Regions from separate parts of the Homo sapiens genome. Here regions 1 and 2 are each linked to region 3. Evidence: promoter capture Hi-C in 16 types of primary human blood cells and fetal thymus (Javierre and others, 2016). All regions are on one chromosome and are shown on one strand. The core of a region is centred on a gene start or on the middle of the fragment in contact, and the rest is flanking DNA. Distances in the headings are between cores, read along the strand shown.

Region 1 (2,700 bases), core at 147-2,646, 2.0 Mb after region 3:
AGGCGGAGCTTGCAGTGAGCCGAGATCGCGCCACCGCACTCCAGCCTGGGCGACAGAGCGAGACTCCATCTCTAAAAATAAATAAATACATAAATAAATAATAAAAACAGAGTGACTGTAATTTCACCAAAAACAATTCTCAAGAATTTTTCTTCTGTTACCTAAAATGATTGATTTCCTTATTTGGCTGTCTTTGTCTTTTCTCACCTTGTAAGCTTCAAAAGAAATATGACAGAAAGACTTACCTCCTTCCCAAATGGAAACCGTAACAACATGAAGCCACCCTATGGCCAAATTGGTGTTAAATTCTTTCTGGTTAGTATTTTCAGAGCTTATTTACGACTTACAAGCAGATGACTTTAAGAAAAAGAAAGAAAGTGGGGGGCGGGCACAGTGGCTCACGCCCGTAATCCCAGCACTTTGGGAGGCCGAGGTGGGTGGATCACCTAAGGTCAGGAGTTCGAGACCATCCTGGCCAACACTGTGAAACCCCGTCTCTACTAAAAATACAAAAATTAGCCAGGCGTGGTAGCGGGCACCTGTAGTCCCAGCTGCTTGGAAGGCTGAGGCAGGAGAATTGCTTGAACCACGGAGCGGGAGGTTGCAGTGAGCCAAGATCGCGCCACTGCACTCCAGCCTGGGAGACAGAGCGAGACTCTATCTAAAAAATAAAAAAATTAAAAAAATTTTAAAAAAAGAAGGAGAAAAGATGTAACGCCCAGGCATACTAAAAATCAGAAAACTAAACTTGCAGTCAATATAAAGAAACAGAGTGGTTGACACGTCAGGCACTTGAGGTGGGTTCATGAACGTGGCCGAGCACTAAGGCACCCCCAAGCTTCCTGGCCCCAAGGAAAAACCTTCATTAAGAGAATTTATCTTTCTGGGGACTGAACTAGGACAGGTGTGGATCTCTGGGCATGACTGAAGCATTCCATTTTAGAATAGACAGAGGTGTTTTGGTGTGCTCCAAACAGATGTTAAACCAATGGCATTAAGTTAAACTTGGGGAATCAAAATGAAATTTTTGTAAAGAGACAAATAGTTTGATCACGCTAATTGAGTGAGTAAATTGTATAAATTCTCACACTTTTGTGCACTTTTGTTTTTCATGGCAGCCTTATGGTAAATGGCAAAAGGAAAATGTGGGGAAGTGATACGAGATGGCTAAAACATTTTATACACTGAAAATCTAAAAAAAATTTCAGGCAAGGAGTCATCATTTAAAAAATGACAAAAGTTTAAGAAACTTCTAAATCTTAATTTTTCATATCTGTGCATTTACTTATTTATTCCACATTTACTCTGTAAGGCAGGCACTAGATCAAGTGCTCATTTTAAAAGCAGTATGTATTACATGCTTATTATGTAGGGAATCTTCCTAAGAGCTTACATTTTATGTCACTTAATATATCACAATAACCCATGAGGTAGGTGCCACTATTGTCCCATTTGGCAGATGCTGAAGGAGAGACCCAGAGTTCACAGTCCCGCCCGTCTCTCAGAGTTGGCGAATGTCAGCCATGGATTTAGAAATAGCCTCGACCATGACGCCAACCCATACATCCACCTACATTGAGCTGTACGCAGCTGAAACACGACAGCCCTGGCTATTTTAAAGATAATTTTATAGACGGACAGGGCCAAATATGTGTCTTCTCACAATATGTTTAGGAACTTGTCACACACTCTCATGTCCAGTTCTCGTTCTGCTTATTGGTCATTTGCGCTTGTGTAAGCTATGCAGCTTCTGGTTCTGTTTACGTCATCATGCACTTTGGCATTTGCCGCTTATCACAAAGTGTTGTTAGTCTTCCACATACCTAATATGTGCTACATATTTGTGCAAGAATACCTACTAACTAGCTGGTGGAGACAGAATCTCCATGCAAATGTTTCATTTGGTTTCTCAAAGGAGTTGAGCTGGCTTTAAAAAATATATAAAATACAAAGAAAAGCTTCAGCAGTGGGAAGAATGAGGTCAGGAATAATAAGAGTGGAAAAACAGAAAAATCAGGATCAATTTCAGCTCAACCAGTCTTAACACCAGCACACGTGGATACATGTCTAGTCATCCTTTGAACTGTCAGAAGCAGCAGAATGTTCCCCTGAGCTTCCTAGTACCCAAAGCAAAGACAAAAGCACTATGTTTACAAGATTTGTGCTGTCTGTGAAATGAGAGTGTAACGGACTCTGTTCACAATGACACTGTCACCAAATAAATTCTGACAGTGTGCCGCATAAGGATTTGGAGACAAAAACTATCAACCCATAATTGAATGAGAATTTATAGCAATTACTTTATCTGCAAAGTGGGAATCACACAGTTATTTTTAATGAGAAAAATTTAAATGTGAAAATCACTTAAAACTGTTTTCGTACTATACTAGTATGAGCAAATGTAAGTTATTTTCTTAATAGCACAGGCCCCCTCCTCAAATAGCAGTTGATATCATCAATATTATAAAACTATATGTTAATTTAAGATGTTTTAAAATATCTGAAGGCATAAAAAGTTATCTCTAATTGTGCTAATACTCTTGAACTGGAAGTCATTTCTAGAACCATTCCTTTCTCCCGCGGATTTTTAAATTGTGTTTGTTTTCAGAGTGTCCTTGGTATGGCCATGCCTAGCAGAATCTGAGATTCACACCTCAAAGTGTGAATGTTTACAAACTGTTTTCACTCAAGACCCAGTCA
Region 2 (2,788 bases), core at 68-2,567, 2.3 Mb after region 3:
TGCGGCTCATATTATTAGGAAGGTGTCCAGTGCGTCGTGCCCCGGCCGGGCGCCAGGTGGCGGCAGAGGCCGGTGCGGCGCAGCTTCTTCGGCCGCGGGACAGCGGTGCCCCCAGGGTAGGAGGCTGGGGCTGGGCTGGAGCAGAGCCGGAGGGAGGAGTGCGGCCAACAAAAGACCATCCGCGAGCGCCTGAACTTGGGTGTGGAGTTGTATTTTAGGATATGTTAAAAAGTTAGGAATATTAAGTAATTGGCACTTGGCCGGGAGCGGTGGCTCACACGTGTTATCCCAGCACTTCAGGAGGCCGAGGTGGGCGGATCACCTGAGGTTGGGAGTTTGAGAACATCCTGGCCAACATGGCGAAATCCTATCCCTACTAAAAATACAAAAACTTAGCTGGGCATGGTGGTGCGCGCCTGTAGTCCCAGCTACTAGGGAGGCTGAGGCAGGAGACTCCGTCGCAAAAAAAAAAAAAAAAAAAAAAAAAGGCACTTAATCCCAGACTGAAACCCTCTTTTCAGACTCTACATTAAGATCTTAAAGAACTTAGGCCCAGGCAGGCGGGTCACTTGCAGTCAGGAGTTTGAGACCAGCCCGGGCAACATGGCAAAACCTGTCTCTACTAAAAATACCAAAATTAGCCGGGCTTGGTGGTGCGAGCCTGTAATCCCAGCTACTCCGGAGGCTGAGGCAGGAGAATTACATGAACCCGGGAGGCAGAGGTTGCAGGGAGCCGGGATCAGGCCGCTGCATTCCAGCCTGAGCGACAGAGCGAGACTGTCTCAAAAAATAAATAAATAAAATAAAATAAAATAAAGAGCTTAAAGAACTTAAGAAAACACCAAATACTTCAGAGGTACCAGTGGCAATGTAATTAATGAGGATATTCAAGGAAGGTGACATAATTGCCAAGGTAAAAATAATTAAACAATTTCCAAAAGTCTATTTCAGTGAAGGAAACATTTGTCTTTAAGGGAAACATCAATGAAAATTATGTTTATGGCAAAAATGAGCCCTTTCTGCAAGCTTCATTTAGAAAATTGTGGGCATAATTACCATTTTACACAAAATAACTCTGTAGAAAGCTTTTTGAAATAAGCTTCTATTGAAATAAAATGCCAATTAATTACCCATTTAACTTATTAAATGAGAACTATAGGGTGCTAATTTTTAAATATTTTTTAAGTTGCTTTGAAATAATACCTTTTCTTTGAGACTTGAGAACATATATAGCTAATATGAACTGATGAAACAAAGATTTTTAATTACTTCTTTTATTATTTACCTATATATTCTGTATCAGTTAATTTCATTGCTTAAATTATTAATGTCTAATATGCCACTTGAAGCATTCATATTCTGAAAATGATGTAAGTTACACATGTAGGTTGGCCGAAAGTATTATATACTAGGACACAGCGGAGTTTGGGAGTGTCTGCTGCCTGTCCAGGAAGCTGCAGGTTTATGAGTTGTAAATGTAGGAGAATTCAGTTCAGTATAAATAGTTTAGCTTCCTGTTATATTAGGATAGGCAGTTAAGCTTATGTTTTTGCCATAGACAAATTATCATTATCTGTCAGGCCTACAGTTTAGGTTTTGACGTAACTCTTCAAGTACAAATGGAGAATGCATCCCCAGCAGCACTGCAGTCCTCGTTCACACCGAGTTTCGGTACAGTCAGGGGTTTTGAAGTCAGTACCACGGGAGACGCAGACGGAGGATGAATGAAAGGCACAGAAAAATCCTAAGGTAGAAATGGGGGGAACGGAAAAGCAGACAGACACTAGAGGGCGCAGGAGGAAAGTGGGTCGGAGTCCTGGAAGAGGAGGCGGGCTGGGTGAAGGAAGACAGTGAAGAGGGCACTCTGAAAAACCCATCCGAATCTTTCAGTGTAGGTAGGCACCACCCACAGCATGTTGTCATTGCAAACTGGTTCCTTCCATACGTCCCGAAAGGCTCTCCATGGTAGCTTACATCTCTCTATTTGACACTTGATGGCTTTCTTAAGGTATTTAGGTCCATTTACTAAAAATGACTCATCACTTGTTAATTAAATAAGGTTTATACATTTTTTTCATTTTAATTTCAAACATAGGAGATAAAGAAAAAAGGTGCTTGTGGCCAGGCACGGTGGCTCACGCCTGTAATCCCAGCTGAGGGGAGGCCGAGGCGGGAGGATCACCTGAGGTCAGGAGTTTGAGACCAGCCTGGCCAACATGGTGAAACCCTGTCTCTACTAAAAATACAAAAGTTAGCCAGGCGTGGTGGTCCTAATCCCAGCTGCTCGGGAGGCTGAGGTGGGAGAATCTCTTGAGCCTGGGAGGCAGAGGTTGCAGTGAGCCAAGATTGCGCCACTGCACTCTAGCCTGGGCAACAGAGCGAGACTCCATCTCAAAAAGAAAAAAAAAAAAAAGAAAAAAAGAAAAAAGAATAAAAGTGCTTGTTCACCCGTACTTTGTGCATGTCAAGTGATATTGAAAACCAAATCTGTAGGCTGTGCCTGGTGGCTGACGCCTATAATCCCAGCACTTTGGGAGGCCAAGGCGGGCGGATCACCTGAGGTTGGGAGTTCAAGACCAGCCTGACCAACACAGAGAAATCCCATTTCTATTAAAAATACAAAATTAGCCCAGCGTGGTGGTGCATGCCTGTAATCCCAGTTACTCGGGAGGCTGAAGCAGGAGAATCGCTTGAACCCTGGAGGCAGAGGTTGCAATGAGCCAAGATCGCGCCATTGCACTCTAGCCTGGGCATCAGGAGTGAAAAAAAAAAAAAAAAGAAAACCAAA
Region 3 (2,700 bases), core at 156-2,655:
TAAAAATGTTACATTTAACAAAATTCTATGAGGGATGTGGAATAGAAATAAAAAATAAAAGAGGAGGCAGGGATGGGGGGGACGGGGTGGCTCACGCCTGTAATCCCAGCACTTTAGGAGGCTGAGGCGGGTGGATCAGTAGGTCAAGAAATCGAGACCATCTTGACCAATATGGTGAAACCCTGTCTCTACTAAAAATACAAAAATTAGCTGGGTGCGGTGGTGCGCACCTGCAGTCCCAGCTACTCGGGAGGCTGAGGCAGAATGGCTTGAACCTGGGAGGCGGAGCTTGCAGTGAGCTGAGACTGGGCTACTGCATTCCAGCATGGCAACAGAGCAAGACTCTGTCTCTAAATAAATAAATAAATAAATAAATAAATAAATATAAAAAGAGGAAACAAACCATGTAAATTTTAAGGGAGGAGACAATTTTAACATTTTACTTTATGTGGGAACGTATACATCTCTTACAACTATTAAATTCATTTTTAAAAAATAATAACTCCCGAGCCATCACTCCTTAAAGAATGTGGTAGTGGTACAAGTTTAAAGAAAGTCTTTTGAGAACACTCTATTGGAAAAGTGAGCAGACTAGGGAATAACAATTTTACCCCCAAGAATTGTTGTTAAGATTAAAAAGGAAAGCGCTGTCGCAGACGCTCAAACACGGTGCTGGCTCTGCTTCCTTCATCAGTTCCTAGGGTCATGGGACACAAATACTAAAATATTTCCACTACTGGTAACGATGCTGGCGAACGCTTTCCTAATCCAGTTCAGACCGACCTCTCATTGGAGCTTGTGTGACCCGCAGGAGTCCGTGCCCCGACTCCGCCGGGACTGAAACGCAACGGAAAGTGCAGTGCTGGATGCGCAAGGGAATGGGAGCGTCGTGGGACCTCCGGAGCCTGGGAGATCAGAGGGTGGAGTCAGGGCCCCCTAGTTTTGGACTCCATTGCCGCACTGCAGGCGACTTCTCGGACCCCACCGTTGAAGCACCAGGCCCCCCGCCCACCCAAGAGCAACCGGGAAGCACAGCACAAGCCCACAGCTCCGGACACGCGCTCCCGTGTGCCCTGCCTCCCCTGAATCCCAACCCACGAAATCTCCGCCCCCTCGCCACGCCCACATCCCCGTCTACCGTCGGGGAGGGGCGACGAGGCGAAAGCCTTGTGGACCAGGCCGGGATTGGTGGGCGGGACGGAAATGGAGCTGGGAGAGGTGACGTCACCTTCCGCACCTGGCTCAGGGCGGAAATGGGGCGGGGAGAGAGTGACACCACCCCTCTGCCTGTGGCTGGATTGGTGGGCGTGGCGGGGGCGTGGCGATGCCTGCCCTCCGGACAAGGCGGGGTTGGTGGCCAGGGCGACCGCGGGGCGGGCCAGCGCCGGGGGTCGTGGCCGGGACACGTGGTACGGAACCGGCGCCGCGCTTGCTGCTGGTAACAGGGCCTTGCCTAGTGGGCCTTCCTTCCCAGGTGGGTCTTCCTGATGGACCTTCCTTCCCGGGTGGGCGCCCTGAGCTGGGAACGGGCTGGGCGGGGAGGACCCGGGTCAGCGGCGAGAGTCACGCCTCATTCGTGGGGGAGCGTGGGGCGCCCGGCCGCAGCCAGGCGGGAACAATGGTGTCCGGGCTGTTCCCGAGCGCGCGGTCGGGGGCGGAGGCCCGTGACGGCCATGGCCCCGGGGCCTCTCGCACCTCCGGGCCACTCGTGTCCCAGCAGCGCCGAGCGCGTCCCCGGTACGCAGGGACAAGCTGGGCGGCGCACTTGGCCTGAGCCTGCGTGGCCCTCCCTGGTGGAGTCGAGTGGAACGACCCGGGTTGGAGATGGGGTTGCGGGGAGCCGAGCGCTGGTCAGGCCACACCCCTCCCCAGGGGCCTGCTGAGAACTCCAGCCTTTCTCCAACGGATCCCTTTCCCGGAGACCTGGGGTGGGGAGTGTGGCGGGACAGAAGCCTCCCAGGTTCAAAGGGCCCTGGACAGCGTCCCTAGCTCCCGCCAGCATTTGAGGCAGCGTTTAAGGCTATAGGAGGAAGCGTCTGAGGGGAGACAAAATTCCCATGCCAGCTTGATGGTCTGGGGCAGGTGTCTTATTCAATTGGCTTCAGTTTCCTCATCTGTGAAATAGAGACAATATTTGGTCCTCACAGACAGGGCCACCAAACCAAACTCCCCACCGCCTGCCAAGGTCAGATTCCGTAGATCATCCAAGCATAGACTGCAGGAAGAGGCGGAGAACCCGGGGCCTGCTACCAATACCTTCCTTGTCCCTAATGTTTGCAGGCAGGAGTGGAGGAAGAGAAGTCCACATTATGCTTAGGGATCAAGTTCTAGCTTGGGCAGATTGGAGATTCTTTTATTGGTTCTTAATCAGACATGAAGGTGTGATTCAGTTATTTGTGTTATATATGCCTTCAATTATCAAGGGACAGGGACTGAGATTCTCAGAACTAGAAGACTCATTTGTGTGTACTACTGACGGTTCCAGGTGCCACAGCAATTTCTCCTGCCCTCCACTAGTCTCAACATTTAAATCATGTTACTCCCTTGCCAGGCATGGTGGCTCATGTGTGTAACCTCGGCACTTTGGGAGACCAAGGCGGACAGATCGCTTGAGTCCAGGAGTTCGAGACCAGCCTGAGTAACACGAGCAAACCCCGTCTCTACAAAAAATACAAAAATTAGCTGGGTGTGGTGGTGCGC

The links. The method cuts DNA at HindIII sites, captures the fragments that hold promoters and counts their contacts. A CHiCAGO score of 5 or more calls a contact.
Region 1: a fragment that was not itself captured here is called in contact with the fragment with the promoter of CNDP2 in region 3 in 1 of 17 cell types (M0 macrophages); the score reaches 6.0 in M0 macrophages.
Region 2: a fragment that was not itself captured here is called in contact with the fragment with the promoter of CNDP2 in region 3 in 1 of 17 cell types (activated CD4 T cells); the score reaches 5.8 in activated CD4 T cells.

The regions. Positions count from the first base shown.
Region 1 is chr18:76,500,984-76,503,683 of GRCh38, forward strand. No RefSeq gene overlaps it. Among named protein-coding and RNA genes, the nearest start is that of ZNF516-DT, 7.0 kb to the left of the region's middle. The HindIII fragment of the contact is 1,120 bases long and covers 837-1,956 here.
Region 2 is chr18:76,802,149-76,804,936 of GRCh38, forward strand. All of the region lies in intron 2 of ZNF236-DT (ZNF236 divergent transcript), which reads right to left. Among named protein-coding and RNA genes, the nearest start is that of ZNF236-DT, 19 kb to the right of the region's middle. RefSeq lists a silencer at 128-177. The HindIII fragment of the contact is 441 bases long and covers 1,098-1,538 here.
Region 3 is chr18:74,494,958-74,497,657 of GRCh38, forward strand. It overlaps CNDP2 (carnosine dipeptidase 2), which reads left to right and starts at 1,406. Exons shown (of 12, transcript NM_018235.3): 1 at 1,406-1,474. RefSeq lists enhancers at 692-961, 1,519-2,031, 2,415-2,514 and silencers at 1,232-1,741, 1,872-1,921. The HindIII fragment of the contact is 6,969 bases long and covers 1-2,700 here.